Linked DNA regions of Homo sapiens: all the other regions are linked to region 3. The links are contacts of gene promoters, found by promoter capture Hi-C in human tissues and cell types (Jung and others, 2019). All regions are on one chromosome and are shown on one strand. Each heading gives the region's core, a stretch centred on a gene start or on the middle of the fragment in contact. The rest is flanking DNA. Distances are from core to core; before and after follow the strand shown.

Evidence for each region. Contacts are between HindIII fragments. The study calls those that stand out against the background at their distance.
Region 1: a contact is called between a fragment that was not itself captured here and the fragment with the promoter of PDZD2 in region 3, in 1 of the 25 tissues and cell types used here (heart left ventricle).
Region 2: a contact is called between a fragment that was not itself captured here and the fragment with the promoter of PDZD2 in region 3, in 2 of the 25 tissues and cell types used here (dorsolateral prefrontal cortex and hippocampus).

Annotation. Positions count from the first base shown.
Region 1 is chr5:31,781,646-31,784,950 of GRCh38, forward strand. The region is part of intron 1 of PDZD2 (PDZ domain containing 2); the gene reads left to right. Among named protein-coding and RNA genes, the nearest start is that of PDZD2, 140 kb to the left of the region's middle. The HindIII fragment of the contact is 7,585 bases long and covers 1-3,305 here.
Region 2 is chr5:31,887,208-31,890,473 of GRCh38, forward strand. The region is part of intron 2 of PDZD2 (PDZ domain containing 2); the gene reads left to right. Among named protein-coding and RNA genes, the nearest start is that of MIR4279, 47 kb to the right of the region's middle. RefSeq lists enhancers at 1,988-2,490, 2,491-2,992. The HindIII fragment of the contact is 3,683 bases long and covers 7-3,266 here.
Region 3 is chr5:31,637,456-31,640,677 of GRCh38, forward strand. PDZD2 (PDZ domain containing 2) reads left to right here and starts at 1,676. Exons shown (of 25, transcript NM_178140.4): 1 at 1,676-1,982. RefSeq lists a silencer at 1,630-1,979. The HindIII fragment of the contact is 21,895 bases long and covers 1-3,222 here.

The sequences.
Region 1 (3,305 bases), core at 478-2,977, 140 kb after region 3:
ATGCTGTACGTAGTCCTAGGATCATGATTTGAAAATCACTGGTGGATTACTTCTTGTAATTACTTCAAACATTTTTCTATTTCTGACCTTTTCTTTCTGTTCCTGATCTTCTTTCATCCTTATAACACAGTTGTATAATGTGAGACAGACGTCTCATTTTGTCAGTGCCTATTTCAGGAGGTCAGTTGGCCAGAGGGGACTACTATTTACAGGGTTTGGGCGAATAGAGGCATTTAGGGAAGGCAGCTGGGCTGTGAGGAGCAGATTTGGGCATATGAGACCAGAGCCTGAGATAACAGGGGGGCCAGGAAGAGAAGTTCCTCCAAGTCAGGTGATGAGCTGTGATCCCAGGTCTGACTCATTCACTCTATGCCGGCACAGTGTGGGTGGCCGTGGCCCATGGGTGCTATCTGCATTCAGGAAGAAGTGAAAGGCCTGTTGAGGCAGGGTAGGGGTGCCGGCTGGGATTCCATATGTCACAAAGGCAGACAGACATGCAGGTCACAGACTCTGAGAGCTTCATTTTGGGGTGGGGTAGAGTAGGGTTGCCATATAAAATACCAGACAGTTTAATTTGAATTTCAGATAAACAATGAATAATATTTTAGTATAAATATGTCCCAACTATTACATGGGACATACCTACATTAAGATATACTACAATATTTGGAGCATACTTATATTAAAACATTATTTCTTGTTTTCAGAAATTCATTTTTAACTGGGAGCTATACATTCTTATTTGCTGAATCTTACAACCCTACATGGGTGGGAAATGAGGAGTCTCCGGAGACATTAGGATGTTAAAATTAACCTTCTTCCTGTGGTCCCAGTCTCAGTCATGCAGGAGTTGGCACCTCTTGTTCTAATTGATCAATAGTTTCCAGGACCATGTTATACCAGTTACCCAAAACACTCATTACAAGTACAGGTATCTGCTCGCTACCACCACCCCCAGGTCTTGGGAATCAGAATCTCTAAGGATTGGATCTGGATCTAGCGTATCTTTAAGAAGCCCAGATGATTCTGGGGTTCAGGCTGGCTTGGAAAGACCACTTTAGATTTTTTTTTTTTTTTTTTTTTTTTGAGAAAGAGTGTTGCGCTATCACCCAGGCTGGAGTGAAGTGGCACGATCTCGGCTTACCACAATCTCTGCCTCCCAGGTTCAAGCAACTCTCCTGCCTCAGCCTCCCGAGTAGCTGTGATTACAGGTGCCCGCCACCACACCCGGGTAATTTTTGTATTTTTAGTAGAGACGGGGTTTCACCATGTTGGCCAGGCTGCTTTTGAACTCCTGATCTCAAGTGATCAGCCTGCCTCAGCCCCACAAAGTGCTGGGATTACAGGCGTGAGCCACCGTGCCTGGCCACCACTTTAAATTTTAAGTTCCCAAAGGTGAGGACTTTTATTTAAAGTTGGTTTAAACTTTATTTTAGATGAAGTTGGTTTAAACTTTATTTTAGATAAAGTTGGTTTAAACTTGATTTATTGCACTCAATAAATATTTGCTGGATGAATGAATGATTTCTGCCTGAGGAGTCATTCCTCACTGGCTTAACCAGTGTTTATCTTGTGGAACTTGGGAACACCAGAAGCATGCACGCGTCTTTCTTTCCATTTTTTTTTCTGGTCTTAAGACTCGTGGGAAAGGACTTGGGTGGAAGGTGTCATGGAGAGAGCCTTGGAGAACACGGGAGGGAAGGATGAGGACAGGACTGGGCAGGAGAGCACCTGAGCTTGCCAGGCAGGGGGCTAGAGCATCCGCATCGGGGAAGGAGGCCAAGTTTTTAATCACCTCCTCAGGCGAGAAGACTTGAGATTTCAAGTTGAGAACAAGTCTTCGGTTATTTTCACATAGTTTCTTTAGTGTCTCACTTGGCACAGTCTGCGTGCTCAGCATCACAAAGAGATTGATACTGAACTTGGAGTCGTCCAACCAGGGTGCTTAAAGTATGTTGGAAATGCTTCAGTGGAACCTGGTGGGTGGCAGGTAATGGCCATTTTGCTAATCTTGGTAATTCCCCAGATCGGCAGCGTGCCTGAGAGTGTCTATTTCCTATAGCACCTCCCTCTGAGGCCTCAGCAATGGAAACATTAGACTCCTGTCCTAAATGTACCCAACCGTCTACATTTCCCCTGTGGAGATGTGCCCTTGTGCCTATGTTGTCTCTAATACAAAGAAGTTTTATTTTTTTCCCGCTTCCAATTTCCTGGAGAAAGGCTTTGCTTAATGGATGAGAACCTGCCTTCCAATCTGCAGGGAGTTTTTGCCGAGTGACGTCATGGACACATAGTGCTCTGACTGTCACTGAGTCTCCGGTCCCCTCTCAATCTGTTCCCTCATCTGTGGCACTGGGACGCTGCCACAGGGCCTCAGGGCTCTGGGAAATGCAGGAGCTGTCTGGAAATTCAGAGCATAAGGCTCCTCGGTAGGGCTCCAGGTCAAGAGTGGAAAAAAGAACATGAAATCCCGGCTTTGCTTGTGACTTTAGTTCTGTCCCTCCCGTCCTCACCTCCTGCAGGCATTCACAGACACCATTCTGAGCGCATCAAAACTGCCTGTGAGTGCCCCACATGGCCACTTTGCTAGCTCCTGTAGTTACACTAAATCCAGAGGTGTCCTCGGGACCTGGGGCAATAGTGAGGTCCCTTCTTCGCAGCCCCGAACTTAGACATAAGGAAGTCAAGTTTTTATTTTGAGAATTAAACTAGTAAATACAACATACAGGGTTGGATAGCCAGTCTCCAAGTTTCCAAGGTAAGACATTGTCCTTGAATGCACGTAGAAAACAAACATCAAATCACAGTGATCTTGTGGAGGATGGACTGAAATCGGATTGTGCTTGTAATTCAGAGATCAGAAATCATTACTTATTGATGTCATAATGTGCACTTTGGAGAAAGTGGGTATGAATAGAAGGGGGGTGGTCAGTGCAAAACAGGGACAAAAACTCTAAGAGTAAGAAGTTAGTGATGCCTGAGGCTAGGCGTGGTGGCTCACGCCTGTAATCCCAGCACTTTGGGAGACCAAGGCAGGTGGATCACGAGGTCAGGAGTTCAAGACCAGCCTGGCCAATATGGTGAAACCCTGTCTCTACTAAAAATACAAAAATTAGCCAGGCGTGGTGGCACATGCCTGTAATCCCAGCTACTCGGGAGGCTGAGGCAGAAGAATCGCTTGAACCCGGGAGGTGGAGGTTGCAGTGAGCCGAGATTGCACCACTGCACTCCAGCTTGGGCGACACAGCGAGATGCCGTCTCAAAAAAAAAAAAGGTAGTCATGACTTTTCTAATGTTTTCTAGTA
Region 2 (3,266 bases), core at 598-3,097, 250 kb after region 3:
GTAGGCTCTAGGGGAAAAGCAGATTTTACACACGCACACACAAACACACATACACACACAAAATCGATATGTAGTGTGAATGGAGAGGCAGTGACAGAGTGGGAATTGTGTTAGGAAAGTGACTCTTGCTTCAGAAATGCTTGGAGCACTTTTGGTGTCCTGGGTCACCCTCTCTGGAAGGACTTTGGGTGTCAGTGGAGAGACCACATTCGGAGCCTGAGAGTGGTGTGCACTTTCATCCACAGGCTTAATTTTGTTTCATTTTGCTTTTTGAGATGGAGAAAGCAGTGTTGAGGATGGAGGAGAGCTAGGAGGTTGGCAGCTTTTCCAATAGGAACCATTTTTACAGCAGAGAAGTGCCATTCCTGAGATCTGCAGAGTCTGCTTCTCTCCTCTCACTGTCCTGATTATCAATTGTCCGTTGTTCTGTTGGAACAATAGGGCTGATTTTTCTGTAGGAATCTGACAAAATTTCGCATAGCTGTACAGAGAACTGCCAGTTAGGGGGACAGTGTCAAGAATGACACAGGCTCAAATACTGAGGGTTGCCTGTGCATGCCCTGTGTCTCAAAACTGTCCTACGCTTTGCTTTCAGTCATCAGTTTTATGTGCGGGGGAGGGGGGGAACAGCACTTTTTCTAAAGGAAAAATAAAATGGATTGGTCTGTGGGGGGACAGTTACACATAGCTTTGAAAGGCTGCTTAGCCGAAGAGTGGCGAGAGTCGGGGAGGGAGTGGGAGTTGTTCAGCATTGTTAACTTCCAACATACGATGGGCATTTGGGCACATCAGAGGGATACAACCCTATTTTTCGAGCCTGGGTTCCAGGGGTGCAGCTGTTTTGGGCCATTTACAGCAGTGGAATTTGGATGGCGCAGATATTGCCCATAGAAGCTTTGCCTGCCTGCCTTCCTTTCTTGTTTTGTTTCCTTTTCTTTTTCTTTTTTATTTTCTCTTCTTTCCTCTTTTCTTCTCTTCTCTTTTCTCTTTCCTTCCTTCCTTCCCTTCCTTCCCTCCCTCTGTCACCCAGGCTGGAGTGCAGTGCTATGATCTCAGCTCACTGCAACTTCCGCCTACTGGGTTCAAGTAATTCTCCTGCCTCAGCCTCCTGAGTAGCTGGGATTACAGGCGTGCCGCCATGCTTGGCTTAATTTTTGTATTTGTAGTAGAGATGGGGTTTCACCATGTTGGCCAGGCTGGTCTCAAACTCCTGACCTCAGGTGATCTGCCTGCCTCCGCCTCCCAAAGTGCTGGGATTACAGGTGTGAGCCACCGCACCCGGCCCCATTGAAGGTTTTCTAAAAAGAAAATGGGATTGGATTGGTCAGGGCTACGTACTCCGATTTGTGAGGCAGTGGTGTCTTTGTAGGCTTGGCTGTTAATGAGGTGGTTTATACTCTACAAGGCATGTGAAATTATTTGAGGGAGAGAGGAGAATGTGTTTTTCTAACCCTTACTATGTCCTAAACACAGAGGGTAATCAATAACCAACTGTTGAGGATGTAGTTTTTCTTAACACTAAATCATTCCCTGAGAGAAGTCCGTAAGCTTGACTGATTTTAACTGCCTGTGAGTTGGAAATCTTTGATAAATGCTCTGAGGGATAGGAAGTCAGTCTGGGATGATACAGGGCATGGGATCTCACCATCGGGAGAGTGGTCCCATTCGATAATGGGAAAAACTCATGTTGGATGGAATGGAAATGTTCCCAGTCAAGATACCCTCATGCCCAGAGCCAGGAGAAACTTTAGACCAACCTCCGTCGGCTTCAGTTTCTCCTTCCTCAGTTTCTTGATGCTCCTCCCCGAGCCCCCTCCCCTATCACGTATGTTTTGCGGGTTGTTCTGTTGTTTGTCTTTGAAAAGATTGATTTATACATTTGTACAGAAAATCCCAGAGCCTTTTCCTCTTAATGCTATAAAGTTGCTATTTAATGAGGCGTTTGGAAGGCCACCCAGCCACTTGAAATCTGAAGTGTCACGCTGAGGGATTGTTACCAAGAAGTATTTACATTGGAGCCGTGGTTTTAGCTCTCTTTTGGCAATTGATTAATTTAGTGCGAGAGCCAATAAATCCCTGGACAGATGAGGAACAGATTGGAGGGGAGGAGCTTCTGTTTCGGCCTTTTCTTTTGGAATGCTTTTAACACTTGGCCAGGGGAGGACTGTGTCCTTTTGTTTTGTTAAATAGTTCAAGTTGGCCATTTTCTGGTGCTGTTCAGAAAGGCCTGTCAGGCCAACAGGAGGGAAGTGATTGGTTGTCCTGGACCCTGGCTTTGCACAGACCTCACACTCCTGTTGAGAAAATGTTTGAAATGCATTCTCTTAAAAGTAGGACTGTGTAAATAATAGATTAGGTCTGAAAGGGCCATCTGAGTATAAAGGCAGTGGGAGCCAAGGGGGAAAAGCCCTTTACTCGCCAACACTTGCTTTAAGTGTCATCTTTCTAGAATTTGAAAGAGGGCCTGGTGGTGGCCTTACTGTGTCCGAGTAAGGGACTCCTCTTCTTGGAGGCATTAAGACACACGGGGGCCGGGTGCAGTGGCTCACGCTTGTAATCCCAATACTTCTGGGAGGCTGAGGTGGGCAGATCTTTTGAGGTCAGGAGTTCGAGACCAGCTTGGCCAACATGGTGAAACCCCCGTCTCTACTAAATGTACAAAAATTAGCCGGGTGTGGTAGTGCACACCTTGTAATCTCAGCTACTCGGGAGATTGAGGCAGGAGAATTGCTTGAACCCGGGGGGGCAGAGGTTGCAGTGAGCCCAGATAGTGTCACTGCACTCCAGCCTGGGCGACAGAGTGAGACACTGTCCCCCCTCCAAAAGCAAAAACAAACACCCCCCCACCCCCACCAAAACAAACAAACAAAACCGTAAGAAACATTGCCCTCCTGAGCATTGACAAGGCTGGGTTGTTCTTTTTTGTGATTTTTTTTTTTTTTTTTTTGTGGAGAGAAATCCAAGAGAAGCTGTGGAGCAGCACTGTCCAATAAAACTTAATGGGCGATGGCGGTGTTCTTTCTGTGAGGTGGCCAATACGGCAGCCACTAGCCACGTGTGAAATGTGACGCACATGACCCAAGAATTGAATTTTTCATTTTAATTAGGTTTAAATAGCAGCATGTGGTGAGGGTGTATGGTATTGGACAGCGCAGTTCTGTGGTGGCTTTTTAATACTTTTGCAAAATAACTCTTTAACCCCCTTTGATTTTCACAGCCTGCTCACAAGGGACAGAGGTTTGGTAGAGGGTCGATTCCCGGTAGGG
Region 3 (3,222 bases), core at 426-2,925:
ATTAGGAGTACATGGCTGGAATGAAAGAGTTGGGGATGGAGTGGATAAGAAATAGCAGTGACTACAGTTTGAGTGATACATTTATTTGCATATTCATTGATTCAGCAAACTTTTCATTGGTGCTGAGGGAGGTAGGCCCAAGGTATGTGCTGGGTACAGAGGCTGAGAAAACACGGGACAGAGTGGTGGAAGATGGGCCTGGGATTGTGGAAAAAACAGAAAGCACCAGCCCTGTTTGATCCTTCTAGAAGGATTTTTTTGTAGTGTCCCAATGATACCTTTCATTGATAATGGTTACCATTTCATTGAGCACCTCCTAAGTGCTGTGCTGAATAGCTGTGTTACTGCTAGTTCCAGCAATCCTGCATGGTAGGTGTTTTCTCTATTTACACATAGGAAGAGAAGCTCTGAGTGCCTGAGTGCCCAGCTTGTCATATACGATGCTTGGATTTGTGCAAGCATTGATCTCAATGGCCTGGTAATTATAAAAGCTGAAGAACAGCTGAAATCAAGAACTTCTCCACCCCAGCCCCTGAGGACAATACCACCTCCAAATGCCTTGGGCCCACTCTGGTCTCTGGTGTGGTGGGACAGCGCTGTCCGGTCTGCGCAGGTGATTTATGTCTGCCTGCTTTTCGGAGAGGCCAGAGTTTATTGCCTTGCTGGGCAGAACTGCAGCTGGGGCCTGCCCTGTCCCATCCCCATCCCCCCGAAAGCAAAGATTTCCAATTACTGTTCTGTAGAAAATGTCAAAAGCATTATTCAACTATTCATTATCCCAGGTTTTGCAATTTTTCATATGTTTTTACTCTTATCTGCCAGCACTTGAAAAAGACCAGCTTTTTCCTCTTAAGAGAGCTTAATTTGCAGAGCTGTGCAGTCTTCCTATTATGTTCTTATCATCCTCTCCCTTTGGTAGGCAGAATGACAAGGATGACAAAAAAAGAACCAAAAATATTTGAAGGCCTTCCTGAAAATCCACCGGAATGAAGGATCCCAAAAGCCTGAGGCTCGGTTCCTCGAGTGACCTGGACGGGAGCCAAGGGCGGCTGGCATTAGCTCTCACAGTCCACTCGGCAGGAGCTCGTGGCTAGTGCTCATGGGACCAAAACCACCACCCCAGGGCCATGGGATTCCCCCCCAGGGGCTTAACTGGGGGATTAAGCAGCTCTGAGGTGCCAAGAGGTCCCCTCTCCCCGAAATCCTCGTACCAGTGCTAAATTACCTTTGGTATCCCAAGGACCAGAGGCTAAGGGTAGCTTGGGGTGAGTGGTTAGCTCTTCCCCCATCTCCTGTGGCCCCTCCGCCCCATTCTTTGATAAGGTAACTGACATTTTTCTCTTTGCTGTGTAAAGTGCTATGCAGAGGCAACTTCACGTCCCCTAGCTCGCTCTGTTCCACCTAGATGGCGCCCTAAGCCCCGCCTGTATGGAGATTCGGAGCAGCCATCTCCCTGGATGCCTTCCTCCCACGATCCCCAGGTTTCTGAAGCGGGCGCACCAGGACTCCTGGCTCACCCAGAGAGACGCCTTGCCCGCGGCGGGGCTCGCTCGGGGAAATCCCCGCCCACCTTGTTATTCCTGCAGGGGAATCCCCGCCCCCCGTCCCTGTCACTCGGGGAAGGGAGTTCCCGCCCCTCGAATCAACCAGGGGGAGGGAATCCCCGCCCATCCTGGAGGCTCGGCGGATCCCCTGCGCAGCGAGGCGAGGAGCGGACCCCAGCGCCGGTGCGTGCCGGCCCCGGGCAGCGGGACGCGGCGGGGCGGCGGCTGCAGGCAGCCGAGGAGCCGCAGGCCGAACCCAAGGCACCGGGATTGCGCCTCCCGCGGCTGCCGGCGAACCGCGGCTCTGCAGCTCGGGGCAGGCGCGGCGGCGGCACCGGTGGTGGCCGCGGTGGCGGCAGCTGCGCGGGGACCCGCCGGGCGGCGCCTGGGTCTGGACGCGCGAGGAAGCCGCGGGAGCCTCGGCCAAGCCGCGAGCAGGTGAAGCGACCGTCCCGCTGCAGCCGGGACGCGCGGCTCCGGGTGGGCAGGGGATGGGGGAGGCCCGGCACCCCCGAGACCGTGTGTGCCCAGGAAAGTTTAGCTACAAATCCGGGTGCGGGAATCCCAGCCCTGGCAGGGCGGGGAGTGAGGACGCCGAACCGGGGTCCCACGTTGGGCGGCGCAAACTCCTCTAGCATCCGGCCGGGGACGGGGAGGGCGCAGCCCAGGGGAGGGGGCTAGACAGAGCGGGACCGAGACAGCGGGACAACCGGAGACGCACTGCCGGGGGTACTCAAGACAGGGCCGGGACCTCCTGCTCGGGCGCGCATCCCGGGTCCCCATCCCTGGGCCGTCTTCTGGTCCCTTCCTCCGACAGGAGTGGAGGTACTCAGGTACTCCGGCCTCAGGTAATGTCTTGGGGACCATCCTCCCTCGGGCTTGTTTCATCTCTCAACCCCCGCCTCTTTGCCCAGATGAGACGTTAGACGCGGGGCGAGGGAATGCAGGGGGCGCGCAAAGATCAAGGGCATCTTAGGGCCGGTTATTGGCGTCTGCCGGGGAGATGGGGAACATAGTGATAGGGAAATCCTGCTCTCTCTCTGAAGTCGAGTTTCTCCTAAAATCTGGTTTCTCCCTCCCTCTGTTCCTCTCTCCCTCCCTCGGGTTTGCGTTTGTGTTTTAAGTCTTTGAGCTGCCTGTGGTCCCCGCTATTTGGAAAATCCATTAAAGCGCAAGGCTGAATTCAGCAGCAGGAGGGTCCAGGACCCCTGGCAGGAGTTTGCCAGAAGCTGTCCTCGGCAGCCCAAATCTATGCAGAGACCTTGATAAGGGACACTGGAGTGGGAAGAGGACAAGGTCTGGCATGGGCTGGTCGCAGAGACTGGAATGGCAGGCACGAGGGCATTCCAGAGCTCCAGACCTGCCCTGGGACTGGCCGTTGGGCAGTGTTGGGGGATGGAGCTGAGTCTGAGTCTGTCCCCTGCAGCTGGCCTAACCTCTTGCCTCCACCAAAGGTAGGGTAGGTGGATATGTTTGCCTTGACAAATCGCAATGAAACTACTGGAAGTGGTTGCTGAGTGGCTGCAGTAAGTGATGCCCTGATCTGTCCTTGCAGAGAGACCCCCTGGACCTTCAGGGCCTGTTCTCCAGTGGGGTCTCTGAACACTGGAGGGCTTTAGGGGCCTGGCATCTCTACTGGGCCAGCTTTTGTGGGTTGTGACTTCTGGGTGGTGGCCAG